Regions from separate parts of the Homo sapiens genome. Here regions 2, 3, 4 and 5 are each linked to region 1. The links are contacts of gene promoters, found by promoter capture Hi-C in blood cells and fetal thymus (Javierre and others, 2016). All regions are on one chromosome and are shown on one strand. Each heading gives the region's core, a stretch centred on a gene start or on the middle of the fragment in contact. The rest is flanking DNA. Distances are from core to core; before and after follow the strand shown. Region 1 holds the start of LAP3 (leucine aminopeptidase 3). Region 2 holds the start of ANAPC4 (anaphase promoting complex subunit 4). Region 3 holds the start of SEPSECS (Sep (O-phosphoserine) tRNA:Sec (selenocysteine) tRNA synthase). Region 4 overlaps WDR1 (WD repeat domain 1). Region 5 overlaps LOC124900682 (a long non-coding RNA gene).

What was found. The method cuts DNA at HindIII sites, captures the fragments that hold promoters and counts their contacts. A CHiCAGO score of 5 or more calls a contact.
Region 2: the fragment with the promoter of ANAPC4 here is called in contact with the fragment with the promoter of LAP3 in region 1 in 2 of 17 cell types (total CD4 T cells and activated CD4 T cells); the score reaches 8.6 in total CD4 T cells.
Region 3: a contact is called between the fragment with the promoter of SEPSECS here and the fragment with the promoter of LAP3 in region 1, in 2 of 17 cell types (non-activated CD4 T cells and total CD8 T cells). The highest score is 6.5, in non-activated CD4 T cells.
Region 4: a fragment that was not itself captured here is called in contact with the fragment with the promoter of LAP3 in region 1 in 2 of 17 cell types (neutrophils and activated CD4 T cells); the score reaches 7.8 in neutrophils.
Region 5: a contact is called between a fragment that was not itself captured here and the fragment with the promoter of LAP3 in region 1, in 1 of 17 cell types (non-activated CD4 T cells). The highest score is 5.8, in non-activated CD4 T cells.

The regions. Positions count from the first base shown.
Region 1 is chr4:17,575,938-17,578,447 of GRCh38, reverse strand. LAP3 (leucine aminopeptidase 3) reads right to left here and starts at 1,250. Exons shown (of 13, transcript NM_015907.3): 1 at 881-1,250. The coding sequence starts at 982. RefSeq lists enhancers at 703-902, 1,243-1,602 and a silencer at 973-1,182. The HindIII fragment of the contact is 2,285 bases long and covers 268-2,510 here.
Region 2 is chr4:25,376,007-25,378,516 of GRCh38, reverse strand. It overlaps ANAPC4 (anaphase promoting complex subunit 4), which reads right to left and starts at 1,254. Exons shown (of 29, transcript NM_013367.3): 1 at 1,173-1,254; 2 at 961-1,099. The coding sequence starts at 1,089. RefSeq lists enhancers at 852-921, 952-1,011 and a silencer at 1,132-1,551. The HindIII fragment of the contact is 5,076 bases long and covers 1-2,510 here.
Region 3 is chr4:25,159,195-25,161,704 of GRCh38, reverse strand. SEPSECS (Sep (O-phosphoserine) tRNA:Sec (selenocysteine) tRNA synthase) reads left to right here and starts at 1,256. Exons shown (of 11, transcript NM_016955.4): 1 at 1,256-1,449. The coding sequence starts at 1,336. It overlaps SEPSECS-DT (SEPSECS divergent transcript), which reads right to left and starts at 1,033. Exons shown (of 2, transcript NR_037934.1): 1 at 952-1,033. RefSeq lists an enhancer at 993-1,292 and a silencer at 1,403-1,572. The HindIII fragment of the contact is 2,962 bases long and covers 315-2,510 here.
Region 4 is chr4:10,104,034-10,106,543 of GRCh38, reverse strand. The region is part of intron 2 of WDR1 (WD repeat domain 1); the gene reads left to right. Among named protein-coding and RNA genes, the nearest start is that of WDR1, 12 kb to the left of the region's middle. The HindIII fragment of the contact is 1,084 bases long and covers 711-1,794 here.
Region 5 is chr4:24,588,562-24,591,071 of GRCh38, reverse strand. It overlaps LOC124900682 (a long non-coding RNA gene), which reads left to right. Exons shown (of 2, transcript XR_007058078.1): 2 at 1,667-2,485. Among named protein-coding and RNA genes, the nearest start is that of DHX15, 5.3 kb to the right of the region's middle. The HindIII fragment of the contact is 1,128 bases long and covers 693-1,820 here.

The DNA of each region.
Region 1 (2,510 bases), core at 1-2,500:
CACCAAAGAAAACGGCCTTCCTTGGCATTGGTAACTCTGCCAGGTTCTAACTTCCCTAAGATTGTTCACTCCCCGGGAATCAATGGAGCCAACTGAGCAACTGTTATCTGGGTAGGCTGTGGCACAGTACTGGAGATAGCACTGGTCAGGCGACTGGTCCCTCCACCACTGAGATACCTGCAGGAGACTGGAGCTCAAGCTCCCCCTAGAACGTTCTTCTGCAGGGACAGTCATCTCTTTCTGGTGCTTAGGCATGACTCCCAAGCTTGTGCTGGTTCCGAGAGCCATTCCCTTTGCAGATCCTTCACATCTGAAGAGCGACCTTCGTAATTTTTTGGAGTTCACTTTTCTTCTGGAAGATGCTCTTAATTCTGGGAAACGTGGGTCTCTCCCCAAAGCCCTTTTCTCTAGAGAGGCATGCTTTTCCTCTAGAAACCCTTCCAAGCTACTTAACTCCCTGACCTTTCACTTCCGCGGGGGAAGGAGCCCTGTGACTCTGGGACCTCAGAAACCCTTTCACCTTGGCAAACTCGGGCTTCCTCCAAGCTCGGATGGGAGCCCCACCGCCGCGTCTTTCCCCGGGTTACTGCCAGGACCGCGGGTGACGACTGGAGCAAGTGCGCGGCCGAGTGGAGCCGGGTAAAGGGCGGCTACAACCATCACCCCCTAGCCCCGAGCAGGGGAATCGCGCCCTCAATACGACCGCTGGGGTCCTCAGCGGCCTAGGCCGATCCCCGCAAGGAGAGAATTTTTCTTTTAAACTGATTTTTGCAACTTGGCTTGGGCGCCCAGGACACCGCGGCTTCGACCAGCCCCGCAGCCCCAGTAGCCCACGGGCAGGGCCCCAGCGGCGGACCATGAGCGAGCCGCCGCCTCTCACCTTCGTCATGTCTGCGGTGGAGAGACTCCGGCTCCCGAAACGTCTCACGGCCAGACGTCGGACGACTACTCGCCCCGCAGCCGGAAGAGGCAGCAAGAACATCTTGTCGGCTCGGCCCCTCGCACCGCCCTCCAGCGAGCACGTGGAGAGCGGTGGGCGGGCGCGCCTTGGGGCGGGGCTTTCGGGGCGCAGACGGCGTGCGCGCGGACTGGCTCGGGCGCCGGGCGAGCGGACGTGCGTCTAGGGGGCGGGACGGATGGGCAGCACCGGCCGACTGGACCGCTGGGATCAAACCGCGGTTGTGGAGGGGACTCAAGGGTGCGCCCGCATTCGTGTGCGCCCGCATTCGTGTGCGCCCGCATTCGTGTGCGCCCGCGCATGCGGGCGGGGGCGAAAAGGCGGGGCTTCCGGACGCGGTTGACAGTCCCGGGAGCAACGCGAAGTAGAGGGGCGGGACCGATATGGTGACGTCACACGATGGGTGGGGCGGAGGCGGGGCGAGTTCTGCAAGCGGGCGTGGGCGGAGCGCTGGGCAACTCCCGGGAAATAGAAACTGAGTGCCAGAGCTTGTTGTCAAGGTTGCTGAATAGACGACTGCATAGTGAAGACACTCCCACTGAGTTTTCGTTTGTTTGTTTGGTTTTTTTGAGTCGGAGTCTCGCTCTGTCACCCAGGTTGGAGTGCAATGGAGCGATCTCGGCTCACTGCAACCTCCCGCTGCTTAGTTGAAACGATTCTCCTGCCTCGTCCTCCCGAGTAGCTGGGATTAGGGGCGCCCGCCACCACGCCCAGCTAATCTTTGTGTTTTTTTGTTGTTTTTTTGGATTTTTTTTTTGAGGCGGAGTCTCGCTCTTGTAGCCCTGGCTGGAGTGCAGTGGCGCAATCTCGGCTCACTGCAACCTCCGCCTTTCGGGTTCAACAGATTCTCCTGCCTCAGCCTCCCGAGTAGTTGGGACTACAGGCGCCCACCACCACACCTGGCTAATCTTTGTATTTTTAGTAGAGACAGTGTTTGGCCATGTTAGCCAGGCTGGCTTTGAACTCCTGACCTCTGGTGATACACCCGCCTCAGCCTGCCAAAGTGCTGGGATTACTTACAGGCGTGAGCCACCGTGCCCGGCAACTCTTTGTATTTTTAGTAGAGACGAGGTTTCACCATGTTGTCCAGGCTGGTCTCGAAGTCCTGACCTCGTGATCCACTTGCCTCGGCCTCGCTAAGTGCTGGGATTACAGGCGTGAGCCACCGCACCTGGCCTGAGTTATTTTTATTCGTGTCCTTTCATCTGTTCCACAGGTGCAACGGTGTAAATACTGTTTTTGAAAATGATGTAACACTATTAGGTTCGTTGACTCGTGCACATAGCAAGTCAATACGCCCAGACACCAGGGTTGCAGCAGAGAAAGAGGTGTAATCGTGGAGTCGCCAAAGGAGGAGATGGGAGGAAACCTCAAATCCATCTCCCTGAGGAATTTGGGGTCAAGGTTTTTAAGGGTTTTGGAGAGGGCTATAGTGTGGAGATCGTTGATTGAAGAGTGCAGGGTGAAGTCATGGGACAGGGCGTTGAAGAACCTGTATTCTTAAGCTGACCCCATTCCTCTCTGGGGATCTTCAAACTGGTAGCTGGAATTC
Region 2 (2,510 bases), core at 5-2,504, 7.8 Mb before region 1:
CCTGCTGCTCTCTAGAGCCACAACAGAGTTTCAAAGCATCCCGGCAGCGGAGGGAGACTAGCTAGATTTCATGGAGGGCCCTGAAAAATTAGACATCAATACCCTGGCGACTGGATCATGGTAGATAACATGGTGCAGACTACAGTCTGCAGGGTGCTAAGATTTCCTTATCACCTAGTTTCCAAATTTGGCTCTATACAACTCTCACATGGCCAGATAACTCTCAAGCCAGAGGCGGAAAGATGCACAGGTGAAGGTTTCCTTACAAAATGGCTGGCAGGTAATAACTCTCAGCAGAAAGTTGGGTACAACTGGTTTATACTCGATGAAGTTTTATGTGAACAAGAAATGCTGATAACACCCATGCACGTTCTGTCTGGAATCCAATGCATGCCTTCCTTGTCCAATTTAGAGGTATTTTTAGTGGAGGGTGGTTATCCAACCCGTACTATAAAACGTGGACAAGAGAAGCCAGGTTCTTAAATATATCCTGTGTGGCAGCTACATGCAGGCACATTTGCAGCTGAAGTTTGACAATAACTCTTCCTACTGCTATTAAAACTGTAAGCAAACTTAGGGCAGGGTCCCTGCATCTACCATTATGTCTAGCTCATGAGCAGCACATAGTGGGCTTTTTTAAAAAGTTCATTTAACTAATAAACCAATGAGTGAAGAAGACTTGGGGAAGCAGGATTGCGTGACGGTGTTAAGCTGTGTGAAAACTGTTACTTTAGCCATAAAAGTACCGAAAATAGCACAGACATCACCTTTCGCATATATACTTAAAGTTTACTGCCGTCCTGGGAGGCAGGGAAGGGGTAGCAGGTGGCCAGCCATGTCTGCAGAAGGGGAAACTGAGGCTCCGGCCGCCTGTGGCCCGAATGAACAGGCTCGGGCTCGGTGTTCTTGGGCCCCCCGGGAGCAGACCCAGCACAGGCGGGCTCCCGCCGGCTCACTCACCTCGCCAGCTGTGTTGGCCAAAGCAATGAGATCCCGCTTGGGCGACCAGACCAGGAAAATAATCTCCTGCGGGAGCTGCTTCTCTCCCACCACCCGGAAGGATGGGAAACAGGTCGGAAAACGCAACATGGGGACGGCCCTGCAACGACACCCCAGTCAGAGGCCGGCAGGAGCCCCCGGCTCTCCACGAGGAGCCCCGACCGCGCCTGTACCTGCAAGAGTCCCCACCGGCAGACTAACACGGCCCCAGTGGCCTCTCCCCTCCCTCTGCCGGCCGCGCGCCACAGCCTCCAGGCCGCCCCGCCCCGCCGCTGTCGCGCGCTCCAGGCACTTCCGGCGTCGGGACTGCCTCGCGAGAGGAGGAGGAGGGGCGGGGCGCGCACCGGTCTTGGGGGTGCTGAGAGCCAGAAGGGGCGGACAGGGACGGGGCGCGGTGGGCGGGGCAGGGAGGAGCGAGGGGCGGATCGAGGTGGGGGTAGGATGGGGCCCGTGGGCGGGGCAGGGAGCAGCGATGGGGCAGAGCTAGGAAGGGTGGGGCACGCGGGCGGGGCAGGGAGCCCCGAGGGGCGCGGAGAGGGAGGGAGCCGCGCGCCGGACCCAGGTGCTGGTGGGATCGCTGGGCGCCGGGACCTGAAAGGGCCCGAGAAGGGCGGGGCAGGCCCCTGCGGCCACACGCAGGTCTTTTGGGAACCCGTGTGTGCACGTGTGTGGGCATGCTTGCATACCTTTCCCGTTTTCCCGGAAATTCTCTGCTGTGGGCAAAGGGACGGTAGGGGTTTATGGGGTAGGCTTCAGCGACAACGGGGAGATGAAAAAGAATATGAACTTTAGGTCCTGATCAGCTGGCGCCTCCTCTAACAGTTACTAAGCGAGTAGTTCTCATGTCAGTCCTGGTGGGTCAGTATAGAATTTTAAAAGTCCCCCTGTCCAAGCAGCACCCCAAACCAATTAGAAGAAAATTAACCCTGGATGGGCCCAGTATTTACTAAAACTCTTTGGGTGATTCCAATTTGGAGAGAAGAGGCGCGTGCCCTAAAACCTCCCTAACAGGCAAATAATACTGTGACATCTCATCCCATTTAACCCTCACAACTTATTGGTAGTTGCAGCACCGTCATAACGAATAAAGAGTGTGGGCTCAGGGCCGGGCGCGGTGGCTCACGCCTGTAATCCCAGCACTTTGGGAGGCCGTGGCGGACGGATCACAAGGACAGGAGATAGAGCCCATCCTGGCTAACATGGTGAAACCCCGTCTCTACTAAAAAATACAAAAAAGTAGCCAGGCATGGTGGCGGGCACCTGTAGTCCCATCTACTGGGGAGGCTGAGGCAGGAGAATGGCGTGAACCCGGGAGGCGGAGCTTGCAGTGAGGCGGAGCTTGCAGTGAGGCGGGGCTTGCAGTGAGGCGGAGCTTGCAGTGAGCCGAGATTGTGCCACTGCACTCCAGCCTGGGCAACAGAGCCAGACTCCGTCTCTAAAATATAAAAAAAGAGTGTGGGCTCACACACGATTTCTTCTATAGGTACTTGGGCATTTACTATGTGGAGGAA
Region 3 (2,510 bases), core at 7-2,506, 7.6 Mb before region 1:
GTATTCCGACAGCAGGCTTGCAGCAGAGAAAGTTTTAATAATCACAAGTTACAAGCCAGGAAACAGGAAGAGTTCTCAAGCTTCAATCCATTTCATCAAGGGGTTCTAGGCAAAGTTTTTTAAGGGGATTTGTGGAGGGTGAGGGGCTGGAAAATTTGGGGTTATCGATTCGTTGGGGTAAGGGAGATGAAATCATTAGGATGTGACAATTGCATTCCTCCATGAATCAGCTTTTTATTGGGCCTTCCAGACAAGTTGGCGTCCTTAGTTTTGTTGGTATGCGGGACCTAAAGAAGCAATGCAAACAGAAAGCTTATCTTCTCATAATGTCTTAGATTTTATCTTCAGAGCAGAAAAAGAATGAAGAGTCTTGTGACAAGGGCCACATTCTCCTGGGGTAGTAAGTAGCAACCAGCTACAAGAAAGTCGGCCACACTGCAAGCTGGCTTAATAACAGCAGCTGTAAGCCTAGTTGGATTTTTTTCCCCTCCTTAATCAATTTTACAAAATGTTCTTGGGGATAGTTTCAGAATGGTCAAACTAATTCATTAATTCAATATCAACTTTTTTTTTAGGCCCTACTTTATTCTGGGCACTGTTTTAGGTGCCCGGGGGAAGGGGGCACCGCAGCAAAAACCGAGGTCCTGCCGTTAGGTTAGAGAGTTTACATTCATGGGTATGGGTGTGTGTGTGTGTGTGTATAAACAAACGTCTGGCATGTCACGTGGTGAGTAGTAAGTGCTATGGCTAAACAGTAGTGTCAAGGGGAAAATGAGTGGGGCACTGCTATTTCCTATGGGGTTGTGAGGCAGTAATAAGTGTGGAAATGTATCAAAGTAAAGATCGAAGGTTCTGGCATCTGACAGTTTGAATAAGGCGGAAGCACAGACCCTGCACAGATCTCAACCATCCAACAGGACTGAAACACAGAACTTGGAAAAACCCACGTACCTGCTTCTTACTCTGCTCGCCCGGTCTGCACAAGTGCAAAATCCTTTCCTGAAGTTTGTGTCAGGAACACCAGGGTTTAACTAGACGAATCAGCCGCAGCGGGGCGGGGCTAATTTCAGTCCTTCCTTTGCCAAAAGTCAGCGAAAAGCGCGGACTCCCTCGCGCATGCTCAAATACGCCAACTTCCTCCTGGAGCGCCATCTGAGAAGGTCTGCGCATGTGCACGAACGAGAAGTGTTTTTTTTGTTTTGTTTTGTTTTGTTTTGTTTTTTGTCCCAAGGCGCTGCCGTACCGTCCAGGCGGCGAGTTGCATTCTGGTTCCGTCGTGTGTCTGGCGTGTGGAGCTAGTGCTCCCGCTTATTCGCCACTGTCGCCACCGCTGTCATGAACCGCGAGAGCTTCGCGGCGGGAGAGCGGCTGGTGTCGCCGGCTTACGTGCGGCAGGGCTGTGAGGCCCGCCGCTCGCATGAGCACCTCATACGGCTGCTTCTGGAGAAGGTACCGAGCTGTCGGTCCCCTCCCCAGCCGCCGCGACCCCGGGGCTCTGGCTCCGCCGGGCGTCCCCGCTGGTGCTGCCTCACCGGCAGCTCTTCGCTGCTTGAGACTAGTCCCAAGTCTGTCTCAGCTTGGCTTGCCCTAGCTGACCGACTGCGGTCTGTGCCTTCTCAGCCTTGCCAAAGCCAGTGAAAGCCAAATGGTGTTGTTAGGAGGGGGTGTTGGGGTCGGGGTTTTGAGTCCCGCTGTTTCTAACTTCGGGATGCGGAAGTGAGGGAAAGTCCCAGTGTACTTTTTTATTCGCGGAAAGGGCAAAGTTCGCACCTCCATCTTTCACCAACCCTCAACGACTCAGAACACATAATGGTGTTTGTAGACTGTATGCTAACTCGAACCACGAGCTTTCCGCGGAACTTCACAGGTCTCCCTCCTGCCAGCGTTCATGTATTTTAATTTCATTAAAAGTTTTGTTGTGTTTTGTTTTTTTGAAACAGAGTCTCGCTCTTTCGCCCAGGCTGGAATGCAGTGTGACGATCTCGGCTCACTGCAGCCTCCGCCTCCCGGGTTCACGCCATTCGCCTGCCTCAGCCTCCCGAGTAGCTGGGACTACAGGCGCCCGCCACCACACCCGGTTAATGTTTGTATTTTTAGTAGAGATGGGGTTTCACCATGTTGGCCAGGCTGATCTCAAACTCCTGACTTCAAGTGATCGGCCATTCTTGGCCTTCCAAAGTGCTCGGATTACAGGCGTGAGTGAGCTACAGCGCGTGGCCAAAATTTCACTGAAGTTTGACAACTACCGCCCTTCTCCACGTCCCACCGCCCCAGTCGTAACGCCCTGGTTTGAAGCATCTTCACTGGGGATGTGTTGTATTGGTTTTCAGTTAGTTTCACTTACGGAAATTTAAATATCTCAGTAAACCTCATTGTATGCATTTATCATCACTTCTCGAAATCTGTAAATAATTGTAATCAAATGTACAAACGTTTTGCCTCTTTGCGGTCTCTATACAGTGGTGAATTTATGCTTGAATTTTAGAAAACAAGCAGCGTGGCAAAATACA
Region 4 (2,510 bases), core at 3-2,502, 7.5 Mb after region 1:
CACGGCCTGGGGAGGAGGTCGTCCAGGCTGGGAGAGCCCACGAGGCCATCTGTCTGGCGGGATGGGCAGGTGCCCCTGTATGTGAGCGTGAGACCTCCCCCATCCCCAGTCAGCTGTGAGTGTACACCGAACAGGGTCTTGGAGGGGCTGCCTGTTAAGTGGATCATTTTCTTGCCAGGTGCTTTGGGTAGGGATGTGTCAGTGTCAGAATATGAAGGACTAATTGGAGTGGGAGAGGGTTGGATTGGGCAGACATTTAATAAATAGCCAGCATCTTAGTTTTATTGAGGTGTACTTTAGATACAGTAGAATTTGTCTGTATTCAGTGTGTGGCTTGGATCTTGACAGATGACCTATATAGTCCCATAAGCACCACCCCTGTCATGACAGAACATTCCTGTCACTCCGGAGGGTGCCCCCCGCCCCCGCCACCCCTTCCACCCTCACCCCCAGCAGCTGCTTATCTGCTTTCTGTCATTGGGGTTGCCTTTTCTAAAATCTTCTTTCATATGAAGTGAGAGGCAATGTGTAGTCTTTTCTGTCTGGCTTTTTCACTTTGCATAACATGTTGGCGATTGATAGCTGGTGTTGAGTGCATTTGCACTTTGTTCCTTTCTATCACTAAGCAGTGCGGTGTGTTGCCTGTTTCTCTGTTCACCTGTTGATGGATATTTGGGTATTTCCAGTTTTTGGCCATTGCAAAGAAAGCTTCTGTGAACATTGCTCCTGTGTCTTTTGGTGGACACATGCTTCCATTTCTCCAGGGCAGATACCTAGGAGTGGGGTTGCTGGTGTTTGGTGTGAGTAGTGTCTGTTTAGGTTTATAAATAACCTGCCCAACTCTTTTCCAACTGTACCATTTTGCATTTCCACCAGCAGTGTGAACATTCCAGTGTCCCCACCCCTCTACCCTTGCCAGCACTTGGTGATGTCAGTCTTTTCTTTTTATTGATTCTAGTGAGTATGGAGTGGTATTCTGTTGTAGTTTTGACTTGCATTTCCCAAGACTAATGACACTGAGCGCTTTTTCATGTGCTTACTTGTCATTCGTAGTATCTTCTTTGGATAGACACCTTGATACATTCTAATTTCACTGGCGAACGATTATCCCAAAATGGATTAATTTATGACTGGTGTCTATTATATCACATAATGCTGTGTTAAGTCTTAGGGATGAAAGAGAAGGTCTGTGTGTACTTCTTTTTTTCTCCCCCAAACCACTTATTGAGATGGCTAGTGAGATAAAGGTCATGTTAAGCAGGGCACAGCAGAGTTGGAGGAGATGGACAGGAATGCTAGGGACTATGATGTGTGTTGTGCCATCCCGGTGGACATGTTAAATGATCTGGAAGCACAGAAGAGTTGATACGGATAGCTTGGGCCATACTTGGAGGCTTCATGGAGGAGGGAACGCTTCCGTTAGGCCTGATGGGTGAGTGGGTGTCCGTAGGCAGGGAGAGGTGCTGGCCAAGGGCACAGACTACACACAGACGTGGAGCTTAAACAGGATGGCAGAAGGTGGGCAGGAATCAGGGTCTGTACTTCTGTGGTCTCAGTCTCGTGAGATGGGGGCCCCTCAGGTCTTGAGGAGGGGTCTAAGGGAGATGAGGGGTGGGGTGGCAGCAGGTGGGGTCATGCTAGGGGTGCCCGGGCACCCTCACAGGAGTCTGGTGTGTCCTAAGCCTCAAGCTGGCGGGAAGCTGCCTCTTTCAAAGAGCACTTGGTTTGTAAAAAGCTGACAGTAGGTAGCAGAGATTAGATGGCCATGTCTTTATTCCCTCCTGAAAGAAAGCTTCACTGTGGAGACAGATTGAGAGCAGCCCAGTGTGTGTGTGTGTTTCTGTTTCACTGAGGCCCTGCGTGTGTGTGTATGCCGGGAGGGAGGCGCAGGGATCTACTTTTAGCACATTACATGTTGAAACCTCATTGCTGAAGATGCTTCTAGTCTCAAATGTTGGCCCCATTTTTGCCACAAAGTCCACCCAGCCTTTGATCTGTGCTATGCAAGGGAGTGGGGAATCGACTTTCCTTTCCAAACCCAAGTTTTTGATAGAGAGGGCTCCCACAGCGTGTCCTGCTCTGCTCCTGCACAGCACAGCCAGGCGCTGAGTTTGGGGTCCAACATTGATTGGCAGCCAGGAGAGCTGGTCCTAAACACGGAAGAGAACAGAGCGCTGGAATGAATGCAGCTTCCCACAAATGGGAGGGATTAGAACCAGGGCTTCTTGCTCTAATCCACCTTTTGTGTATCTGTTTCACTGATATATTTGTTCTGTATTATGGAAAGTACAGAAAAGCAGAAAAGGAAAAAAATCACCTTGTTGTACAGTCATAGACTAAGGAGAACGAATTAAAGTAACATGAAATTCTATCACCCAGAGATAGGTAGGCAGGCAGTAGATACGTAGGCAAGTGGTATGCTTCTGCGGTTTTCTTCACGGTTTTAGCTTCAGTGTTTCTTTGTACACCCCTTTCACCCCATATCTGTTGATGTGGAGAGCTGGAAGCTT
Region 5 (2,510 bases), core at 7-2,506, 7.0 Mb before region 1:
AGTTCCCCCATATGTGAGAACTGCATGCCTTTTGCAGTACACCACATGCTTTTTTCCCAGTAAGCTACAGGTGAAAGTTTTAACAATTGCCCTGCTTCCTTGTGTCCTACCTCCACCACAGATTCATTGCCAGCCAGCAATGGGTGACCAACTCCAAAATCCAATCATAATGTCTGCTTTCTTTCTGGCACCACTTCTGGCACCAAATCTTTTAGGTCGGCTTCCATGAAAACTAGACTCTGAGGCAAAGATTAGCATTTAGAATGTTTATTAAGAAGTACATTTAGGATCAATATCAGTGGAAAGAAAAGATAAAAGTAGAATCAGATAAGGAAAAGTTGACTGTGATGCTGTTGCATGACAATGAATTTGACTGGCCTTTATCCCTGGTTCACGGGATTGGTTCATTTTAAATCCTTGGGGTCTCCCAAGTCATAAGAGTATCTTTGTTGCTCTCTTTAGTGAATATGCAGTGACTTCCTGGTTTGTGTATCCTGGTTTATATATTCCCTTTATTCTCTTTATGTATTCCCTTTATTCTCTTTAGGTTTATGTATTCCCTTTATTCCCTAAAGAGTTACTCTCTTTATGTTGGGCCCTTGGACGACATCTGAATTAGTGCTAAGGAGATAACTCAGGATGGGAACTGGTCATCCCAGAAAGACCAACCATGTGATTAAAGGGTTGAAGCTTTGAGCCACATGTTATCAGCCCAATCTCTTGACCTTTAAGCAGGGAAAGGAGGCTGGAAATTGAGTTGAATCATGGAGCCAATGATTCAGTCAATCAATCATGGCTACATAATGAAACCCCAATAAAAACTGCAGACACTGAAGCTCAGTGGAACATCCTAGTTTGTAAGGACATGGATGTGAGGGAGGGTCACATGTTCTAATTCCATGGGGAGAGGACACAGACGCTCTGATTTGTTTCCTTTATAATAAAACAGCAACCATAAGTATAGTGCTTTCCTGAGTTTTATAAGTTATTCTAGTAAATTATCAAATATGATGGAATTGTGAGAAACTCTGAATTTGTAGCCAGTTGGGCCGGAGTGCTGGTGGCCTGCAGACCCCTGAACTTATGGATGGTGTCTGGAGTGGGGACATCTTCAGTCTTGCTTGGGACTGTGGCCTTAACTTGTGGGATTGGAGGTAACTCTGGATTGTTACTGGCCAAATTGCATTGGGGTACATCAGATGCCATTATAACAAAGACTTCAGCTGATCCCACAGAGGGTTCAGATGCTCTGAAGCTCACAGTTGTCCTAAGTTGGTAGACAGGCCAAGCCTTTATACCTGTAGAATGTATTCAGGCTGCCCCTGGGCATGGCAGCTTTCTTTAGCCATGGAAGTTTCTGAAGAGGGCTGACACGAGGATCGTGTGCAGGTGGCAAGCACTCCCAGAGCTGAGGGATGTCTCATTATGAAAGTGAGATTTTGATGGCAAGCCATAGCACCACTATAGTTTGTAACTATTTCTGTCTCTTACTAGAGAGAGGATAAGGTGATTAAAAATAGTACTGAAAATTCTTTCAAATTTGTAAGCATTTTGTTGCTAAAGAGGATTCAAAGAGGGAGACTGGTGGATTGATCCTGGCAAATCCTCATGAGTGATCATGTTGTTTTCCCACTTAAATCTCATTTCTGTTTTCCTCTTGTTTTAGGAAGGATAAAGGCTTACCTCCTCAGCAGGACTCCTCAGATGGGGCATGATATGCCCTGTTCTTGCATCTGCAGGATCACAGATGACAAATTCCTCATCTCAACACATCCATGTTGTTTTCTCTGTCTGTGGGTCGCACCTGACTTTTTAAAGCTTCAGGGCCTTTGCACAGGCTGTTTCCTCTGCTTGGAATGCTTTCTGCCCTCTCTGCCTGGACAATTTGCATTCTTTTTTTTTTTTTTTTTGAGATGGAGTTTTGCTCCTGTTGCCCAGGCTGGAGGGCAATGATGTGACCTTGGCTCACCGCAACCTCCGCCTCCTGGGTTCAAGCAATTCTCCCACCTTAGCCTCCCGAGTAGCTGGGATTACAGGTATGCACCACTATGCCCGGCTAATTTTGTATTTTTAGTAGAGATGGGGTTTCTCCATGTTGGTCAGGCTGGTCTTGAACTCCTGACCTCAGGTGATCTGCCTGCCTTGGCCTCCCAAAGTGCTGGGATTGCATTTATTTTTAAGGTTTTTGTCTAAATGTTTCTTTCTCAGAGAGGCATTCCCTAACCCTCAATGTAGATCAAGGCCACTTGTTATATGCTCTCACAATGCCTGTCGTCTGTAGCTGGCCTTTTCAGCACTTATCATCGTGATAACAACATAGTTATTTATGTGTTTAGCTGTTCAGTGCCTGTCTCTCTCCCTCTGCCACGTTTTATGAAGGCAAGAACTATGGCTATTTTCTTCTTTCCTCTTTCCCCAGCACTTAATGCCTGACATGGGAGCTTAATACATATTTGTTGATTGAATAAATAAATGGTAATAGTGATACTGTACAATGGTCAATAGTGCGG